Regions from separate parts of the Homo sapiens genome. Here region 1 is linked to region 2. The links are contacts of gene promoters, found by promoter capture Hi-C in human tissues and cell types (Jung and others, 2019). All regions are on one chromosome and are shown on one strand. The core of a region is centred on a gene start or on the middle of the fragment in contact, and the rest is flanking DNA. Distances in the headings are between cores, read along the strand shown.

Region 1 (2,700 bases), core at 201-2,700, 1.6 Mb before region 2:
ACCACCTAGTCTACCCGGCTCTGATTTCTCAGTGTGTCTTTTTCGGGCGCCGGGGAGGAGGTTGGCCGGGGGAGAAAGGAGGGAGAGGTGGTGAGAACAAGCTCCACCCGGACCCACCGACCGCAGTTCAGCTTGCTGCACCATTTCAGGCCCCTTCAAAAGTGTTAGGCAGAGCAGCATCCTCTGGGAAGCCTCTCCTGCCAATCACTCTGTCACTCTCTGAGTAGCCCTGCTCACCCTCCCACTACTGGCCACCAAATGCCCGGTCTTTCTAGGAGTTGGTTCTAATTCTGGTCCCTTAGCCAAGCCTCTTCCGAGCCCCTGTGGAACCCTCTCCTCAAATCCCCAAGGGGTCCGAATAGGAGGAAACCTCACATTGCCTGACCCCATCCCTAATCTTCAGACCCTACTGTCTCTCCTTTCCCTGCCTCCGCCCAGGCTGGAGAAATGGGAGACAGGTTAGGCAAGGAGGGGAGGTGGGGCGCCGGGGTGACTCCTTAGTTCATTAGTTATTCTCTTTTACCTCTCCACTCCACGGGAAGTGACAGGGACATGTGTAATGGGGGGCGGGGAGAGGTCCCCGGGGCCCGCGATGAAGGGCCTGGCCGCTGCAGTCTCCGTGCATAGAGACCCGGGCCGAGTTCTGACTGAGGCCATGGGACCCCCTCCCCCCAGCCCGGAGGCACAGCCAAGCCTGAGAGCGTGAAGGAGAGGCTCCCCGCCCTGGAACTGAGCTGGGGAAGGGGATAACTGGAGAGAGAAAAATGTGGGTGGGGGAGGGAAGGCTTTAAGATCTACTTCTCAAGACTTGGGGTGGGGGGACGGGGCTGGACAGCTAGGCTTATAAGGATGAGGGGAGAGAGGGGACGAGGGCTTTGGAACCTGGCCTCGCTGAGAGGGGAATGAGAAGGGAGGAGTGCGTATAAGATCTAGCTCTCTGGTGGCTAGGGCCAGGTTCCCAGGTTCCCAGCGAGCACCAGCTGGGGCTGCGGGTGAGGTTGGGGCCCATTGTTGCAGCATTCATCGGGGAGACCCTCGGAACCTCACCAGTGGGGAGGAGCCAAGAGGTGTCTTTAACCCCTCTCCCAAATAAGCATCCGAAATAAATCGACACAAAACGTCAACACAAGCACCCTAGCGCGCCACCCCTCTCAGTCCAGTTGGCCACCTCTGAGTCTCCCCATCCTCCACTACAGAACCTTCAAGCCCCAGGTCCCGTGAGAGGCCACGTGGCACGCCGGGATTCTGGGGGTCGTGCCTTGTGACGCCCCGCACCGGCCCGGAGCGGGAGGGCAGAGGCCTTTCCCGCGGGGCACTCCGGGCTACGTGCAGTTCACCTCTAGGCAGGGGGCGCCCTGGCAGCGGAGAGACCACATGCCCGGGGGCGGGCCCTGCGGGGCGCGCTCCTCCCACGAGGGTGTCAGGTTTACGGAACCGAGTTCCCAGGCCGGACGCGCGGTGGCCTGACGGTCGCAAGGATTACATTCGCCTGACCCGGCCCGGCTTGACCCTGCCCGGGCGCGCCATGTTCGCGCGTGGGTCCCGGAGGCGCCGCTCCGGGCGTGCGGTGAGCGGGAGTCAGGGCAGCGGTGGGGGTCGGGGGTAAACTGAGGCCCAGGCAAGGGGGCAATGGATAGGCATAGCGAATAGGTGCCCCACAGAGGATCTGGGAATCCCATCCCCTGCATTCCCAGACCTGGGGCTGGGGCTGCTGGAGGCGAATGGATGGAGGAAGGTGTAGATCTGGTGGCCCAAACCCCCTAATCACCTCTCCACACACTTTCATCAGCACTCCTGGGACCTGGTGGGGACCCCTCTCTTATGAATTGTGGGAGGGAATCCTGAGGGCCAGAGAACTGGGTCTTGAAGCCTTAGGTTGAGCAGGAACCTCCTGAGCTGCTGCTTTTTTTTTTTTTTTTTTTTTTTGAGACTGAATCTCTGTCACCCAGGCTGGAGTGCAGTGGCGCTATCTCCGCTCACTGCAACCTCCGCCTCCTGGGTTCAAGCGATTCTCCTGCTTCAGCCTCCCATGTACCTGGGATTACAGACGCCCGCCACCGCGCCCGCCTAATTTTTGTATTTTTAGTAGAGACAAGGTTTCACCATGTTGGCCAGGCTGGTCTCGAACTCCTGACCTCAGGTGATCCGCCCACCTCGGCCTCCCAAAGTGCTGGGATTATAGGCGTGAGCCACCGAGCCTGGCCGACCTCCTCAGCTTCTAAAGGACACAGTACCTTGGAGGAATGTGCACGGAGGGATGGAGTCCTACACTCCTGGGATGCCGAAATGCTGAGAGTCAAGAGACTGGGATTTGGGGGGACAAGGCTTCCAGGGTTCCGCCTGAGCAAGGGAGTTTTTGACTTCTTAGATAGGAGGTTCTTTCACTTCCTTTGGAGTGGGTCTCTGACCTGGGAATGTGGGGTCTGGGTTTGATGGTCCGGAGAAGGAATAAATAGCCCTAGGATGGGATGGGTAAAGGCCAAGGTTTCTTGGGATGGGGGTTTCTGAATGGAGCAGGGGCCTCCTGAGATCCTGGGGAGGGTCCCCAGTTCCTTGGGTATCAGGGCATGAGGCCAGGGTTTAGGGGAGGAGCTCCTGAGCTTCTGAAGAGAGGGGCAGGGTTCACGTGGGGATCTCAAGGAAGAATGCGGTCTCGTCTCCTACCCTGTGGAACTGGAGTGCTGCTGGCGGCGTAGATGG
Region 2 (6,278 bases), core at 946-3,445:
CGGGGAGATCCCCATCTGGGTAACACTAGGATTTGGAATGCCAGAGAAGGAATCCTGAAGGGAGGAGAAAAGAGTGGCCAAATCAAAGGCCTGGAGGTGGGACTGAAGCTGGCTGGGTTGGAGGAGGGAGTAGAGGATGGTTTGGGAAGTGTTTGACTTGGGTACTGTGGAAGCCTAGGGGAGGAGGGGATAGAATCTGAGACCTGGGGGTGAGGGGTTCCTGCAGACAGTGGCCAAAGGCAGCCCTCGAGAGAGAAGGAGAGGACATTCCTGGCAGAAGTTACAACACATGCAAAGGTACAGAGGTTGCCCCCTTCCTACCCCTCTCCTTAGAGGTGGGTTAGAGATGTATCCTTTTTACAGATGAGGAAACCAAATCTCAGAAAGATTAAGTCACTTTCCCAAGTGTATGGTGGAGGCCCCACTTGAACCCAGGCACTGTGTCTCCAGACCCCACACTATTACTGCCTTGTTTAAACCAGCCAATGATTTAATGAATAAAGGATGAACAAATGAATAAGTGGATGAGTCACCTGAAAATTCTGCAGGCAAAAGAGACTCCATATCTACTTACTTCTTGCCTATCTTCTGCCACCTCTCCTAGTCCACCATCACTGCTCACTATGGTCAAGGTCCTACCCAATCTGGCCCCTGCTACCACAACCCCCTTCAGCTTGTTCCAGCCACATTGGCACTGGATGTTTCCTCTTCCTGGCACATTCTTAAAAAAATGTGTTGATCATAAAGTGAACATGACCCTTTGGGAATTAACTGGAGTTCTTGTATTCCCTCATCTGTAAAATAGACATTATATTATCCACCCCACTGGATTGTTGTGAGGGTTGGATGAAATGATGCATGTAAACAGCTTAGTTAAGAGTTGGGTACAATCAGTGAACAAATGATTATGAATTAGTGCTTTTATTGTAGTCAGAATCATAAAGATTTGACAGGTTCCCATATCCCACCTCTGCTTGGACTACCTCATTTGCTCATATGCAAACATTATTTGGTACCTACTGTGTGTGCACCATGGGATGGGCCTGCCTCTGTGGAAAGTTCTTGGGTGCAGGGGGAGACAGCCATGGGCACTGATGACATCAGGTAGTTATCGTGAGTTTTGGCGGTGTCCAGAGCAAAGGGATGGTGGCGTATATACCAAGTGTGTTCTGGTGTGGGGGTGGACACGCACCAGGGCTAGGGCTGCAGAGAATGTCTGTGTTGCAGATCTAGGTTTCTCCATGATCATCGGTGGGAATGTGTTTTGTCTGCAAGTGTATGCTCATATGAGTTTCCCTGGGTCTCTGTGTGTCAGTGTGTTACCTGTGTGTGTGGGGGTATGGGTGTATGCATGCATGTATGTAACATGCCCATGTGTGTTACTCTGGACTTGTATGTCTGTATGTATACCTAGATTGGCGTGTGTTCTGTCTGTACATGCCCTCGTATGTTTCCTCACTTTTGTGTGTGTTTATATGTGTGTCATTTCTTGTGTGCCTCCAGGCCCCCCTTGCCACCTTGGGCAAGGGTGTGTACACCACCCAAGTGTCCACCTCCGCTTGTCTGATGCTGTCTGTGACGCCCCCGCTCTCTGCCTAGCTGAGCCTGTGTGGATGTGGGAGACTAATCTCCCCGCGGGCACTGCGTGTGACCTCACCCCCCTCTGTGAGGGGGTTATTTCTCTACTTTCGTGTCTCTGAGTGTGCTTCCAGTGCCCCCCTCCCCCCAAAAAATGCCTTCTGAGTTGAATATCAACACTACAAACCGAGTATCTGCAGAGGGCCCTGCGTATGAGTGCAAGTGGGTTTTAGGACCAGGATGAGGCGGGGTGGGGGTGCCTACCTGACGACCGACCCCGACCCACTGGACAAGCACCCAACCCCCATTCCCCAAATTGCGCATCCCCTATCAGAGAGGGGGAGGGGAAACAGGATGCGGCGAGGCGCGTGCGCACTGCCAGCTTCAGCACCGCGGACAGTGCCTTCGCCCCCGCCTGGCGGCGCGCGCCACCGCCGCCTCAGCACTGAAGGCGCGCTGACGTCACTCGCCGGTCCCCCGCAAACTCCCCTTCCCGGCCACCTTGGTCGCGTCCGCGCCGCCGCCGGCCCAGCCGGACCGCACCACGCGAGGCGCGAGATAGGGGGGCACGGGCGCGACCATCTGCGCTGCGGCGCCGGCGACTCAGCGCTGCCTCAGTCTGCGGTGGGCAGCGGAGGAGTCGTGTCGTGCCTGAGAGCGCAGCTGTGCTCCTGGGCACCGCGCAGTCCGCCCCCGCGGCTCCTGGCCAGACCACCCCTAGGACCCCCTGCCCCAAGTCGCAGCCATGAACTACCTGCGGCGCCGCCTGTCGGACAGCAACTTTATGGCCAATCTGCCAAATGGGTACATGACAGACCTGCAGCGTCCGCAGCCGCCCCCACCGCCGCCCGGTGCCCACAGCCCCGGAGCCACGCCCGGTCCCGGGACCGCCACTGCCGAGAGGTCCTCCGGGGTCGCCCCAGCGGCCTCTCCGGCCGCCCCTAGCCCCGGGTCCTCGGGGGGCGGTGGCTTCTTCTCGTCGCTGTCCAACGCGGTCAAGCAGACCACGGCGGCGGCAGCTGCCACCTTCAGCGAGCAGGTGGGCGGCGGCTCTGGGGGCGCAGGCCGCGGGGGAGCCGCCTCCAGGGTGCTGCTGGTCATCGACGAGCCGCACACCGACTGGTAAGCCACTGCCGCGGACGTCTCCCGTGGGCCTGGGTCCCCAGATCGTTCTTCTGCGAATGAGCAATTATCGAGCGCCGCTTGTGTGCCTGACACCTGGCCCTCTCACCTAAATCTTTTTCCTTTAAATTATTAAGCTGGATGCTTCCTCTGTGCCCCGCCCTTGTCGCCCCCCTCCGCCCCTTAAACCTTGATGGATCCAGGGAGCAATTATCAGGCACCTGCTGCGTACCTGTTCCCTACTACCCCTCCCCCAAAAGTCTTTGGCTTCAATATATCCTATGAGCCTTCGAAAACCGAACGTGTCCTTCCTACCCTCCCCAACCCTTGCCCCATAGGCCTTGTCCTCTAATGGATCTTGTGAGCACTTATCTAGTACCTGCAGTATGCCTCATCCAAGAGCCCTTCCCCAAGGCCTTTGATTTCAATGAGGTTTGTGAGCATTCTTTGAGAGCCTGATACTGTCCTGTTCTCCTCAACCCTTGCCCTGAGGCCTTCTCTAATGGGTCTTGTGAGCATGTGTCCAGTCTATGCTATGTGTCCCACCCCAGCTCCGTCCTTAAAGCCCTTTTAAACTATTTAGTAAACATTGAGTACCTGCTGTGTATCCCACCCCAGCTTCTCTCCAAAAGCTTTGCCTTTCATGGATCCTGTGAGTTTTGATTGGATGCCTTCTCTGTGCCCCAACTCCAAGCCCTCTCTCTGAGGGCCTTTTCTCCAAAGGATCTAGGAAGCATTTGTTAAGTGCCTGATACGTGCCGCACCCCCAAACCCCTTCTCAAACAAATCATTTTCCTCCAGTGAGTTCCATGAGCAGTTTTGAACCTTCTTTGTGTGACTCATCTTCAGACCGTCTCCTCAAAGACCTTTCCCTACAGTGGATCTAGAAAACATTTATTGAGTGCCTCTTGTATCCCCCGTTCTCCAGCTACTTCTTCAAAGACCTTTCCTTTGGTGGATCCATCTAGCATTTATCAACTGCCTGCAGTGTGAGCCTTCTCTAAAAGTTCTTTCCTCCAGTGTATTCAGCAAGCATGCATTGACTGGTGCCTGCTGTATACCCCACCCTCAAACCCTTTCTGCAATACCCTTTCCTCCAGTGGCTTCAGTCTGCATGTATTGAGCACTTTCTGCATGACCCAACCTTAGACCTCTCCATAAAGGCCTGTGCCTCCAGTTAATACAGTGCTCAGATATCTGGCACTTGCTGTGTGTACCATTCCAGTCACTCTTTCCAAAGACCTTTTCTTTTAATCACTCCTTGGAGTATTTATGGAGCACCTGCTGTGTACCTGATTGTGTGCCTTCTTCACAAAAGCCTTTTCTCCTATGGATGAAGAATCGAGCTCCCATAGATCAACTTTCTGCACTCCCATTTCCCCTCCCCATAGGACTTTTCCTTCAGGGATGCAGTGAGCCTTGATCAGGTGACTATATGTCCATCCCCAGCCCCACTCCCCAAAGGCCTTTTCTTCTAATGGATCCAGTGAGCATTTATTCCTTGTCTGTCATGTGCTCCATTTTAATCATCCTCCCCCAAAGACCTTTTCTTCCAATGGCTCCCCTGAGCATTTATGGAGTGTCTTCTGTGTGTTCTGTATATTCACACCTCCTCCCCAGAATTGTTTTCTTAACAGTAGATCCAGTGAGCACATATGCAGGACCTGTTGTTTTGGGGAGTACATTCTTCTTCCTTACCCCTAGGAGAGCCTGTTCCAATCACAAGGCCTCTCCCAAGGTCCTTTCCTGTGATAAATCCAGAGCTGAGTTTATAATGATCACCCCTTTCCCACTCCCTTCAGTACCCCTAGGATTCCCTCTACCAACTTTAATTCATACCCCCAAAGGGCTTTTAGTCTATTTAAGTAACACTTACTTAAGTAAACACTTTTACTTAATAGTTTTACTATTGACTTAATTTACTAAATAAATTTAGTAAATTTACTAAATTTACTATTTACTTAATAGTTTTACTATTTAAGTAAACACTTATTGAGCACTTACTGTATAAGTCACTTTCAACTTCCTCTTTCCAAGTCTCTGGAAATCCCTGACCCTGCCTCAAGAGCTCTCTCTCTAGGGGTCTACTTCAGCCTAAATGTATTGAGTACCAGCTGTTTACTGGTTAGATTACCTCTCCCCCAGGAGCCTTTACCGAGTAGCCTTTCTCTCCATTCAGAGCAATTTATTCATTCTGCAGATATTTATTGCATCCTTTCCATGAAAGTGTGGGAGGCATTTATTATGCACCATTATATACTAGGAATAACCCTTCTTCAGCTCCCCTTCCTTCTTTTTTTTCTAAATGCAGGTGTGCTTGAAATCCTCACCTGCCAGCTGGCCTTGCTATACCTTTTCCTCCATGCAACCCCACAATCATTTAATGAGCATTTATCGTATACTACTGAGAACCCTGCGTTAAATGCCTCTTCTCCCCTTTTTGTAGTCCCAATTCCCCCTTCAACAATCTCCATCCTGCCTTTTACACAACACAATCCTGAAAGCTCACAATGTGCACTGTTTTCCATTTATTCTAGCTAGGCCTCTTCCTCCACTTAGTAGCCATCTCCCCAGCTGCCTTTTTCTCCCCGAATTAGTCCAGAAAACACTTATTAATCTCTTACTGTATTATTTTCAAACAGCCACATTATCATCCCTGCAGCAGGCTTCTCCGCTTTTTTCTCTATCAATCTGTAAAGCATTTATGGAGCACGTGCTGTAATTCCTTCACCAACGTCCACTCACCAACGTGTTATCTTCCTGGTTAAGTTTGCTCCATTGAAGTCAGCAAACATCAATGAGGCCTCTGCTGGATATAGGTAATCACCCTCCTTTAGACTTCCGGTCTCCACTCCAGCCCTCCATGCAGGTCCTTTGCGTCTGCTTCCTTCTTTCCATCAAGCATTTATTATCTATGGAATACTGACAAGTCCCTTCCCCTTTCCATAATCACAAATTCAATGTTTTCCATTTTTTCTTTGTCCAGAAAACATTTATTGAGCACCTGCTGAATTCAGTGAAAGATCCATCCCTTCCCCTTCTGCATCTCAGAAGCCCCCCTTTATCCCAGCATCCCCTCCAGTCTTTTCTTCCAGGCAATCTAGCAAATATTTATTTAGTGTCTACTATATGTGGGGTGGGGTGGACAAAGGGACAGAGCCTATGTATGTACGCCAGGCTCAGTGTGGGGAACAGAGACCTGTTTTACCAACTTGCAGACACTCAGAACCACACTAGCTTCAGGGATTTCAGCCCCAAATAAAGCAGGAGTTGTGCAAACTCTGTGATGGAATGTACACCGAAATACAGTCTGACGCCTTTTCCACCAAACCTCACCACCCTCATTCCTTCCTGGGTCTCAATTCCTCTGTGGTTTAAAGTTGAAAACTCTAAGTTGAGACTCATCTCCCCCATTTTGTGGGTAATTTTGTCCTGTGTTTTTCTTTCTTTTTTTTTTTTTGAGACGGAGTCTTGCTCTGTCGCCCAGGCTGGAGTGCAATGGCACGATCTCGGCTCACTGCAACCTCCGTCTCCTGGGTTCAAGCGAGCCTCCTGAGTAGCTGGGACTACAGGCACAT

What was found. The method cuts DNA at HindIII sites, captures the fragments that hold promoters and counts their contacts. A contact is called where the count stands out against the background at its distance.
Region 1: the fragment with the promoter of PRICKLE3 here is called in contact with the fragment with the promoter of SYN1 in region 2 in 1 of the 25 tissues and cell types used here (lymphoblastoid cells).

What each region holds. Positions count from the first base shown.
Region 1 is chrX:49,185,123-49,187,822 of GRCh38, reverse strand. It overlaps PRICKLE3 (prickle planar cell polarity protein 3), which reads left to right and starts at 1,450. Exons shown (of 9, transcript NM_006150.5): 1 at 1,450-1,567. The coding sequence starts at 1,526. SYP (synaptophysin) reads left to right here. Exons shown (of 7, transcript NM_003179.3): 7 at 1-8. RefSeq lists a silencer at 1,328-1,457 and a cis regulatory region at 1,151-1,691. The HindIII fragment of the contact is 10,179 bases long and covers 1,310-2,700 here.
Region 2 is chrX:47,615,774-47,622,051 of GRCh38, reverse strand. SYN1 (synapsin I) reads left to right here and starts at 2,195. Exons shown (of 13, transcript NM_006950.3): 1 at 2,195-2,700. The coding sequence starts at 2,324. RefSeq lists silencers at 1,972-2,181, 1,888-2,182. The HindIII fragment of the contact is 13,946 bases long and covers 1-5,147 here.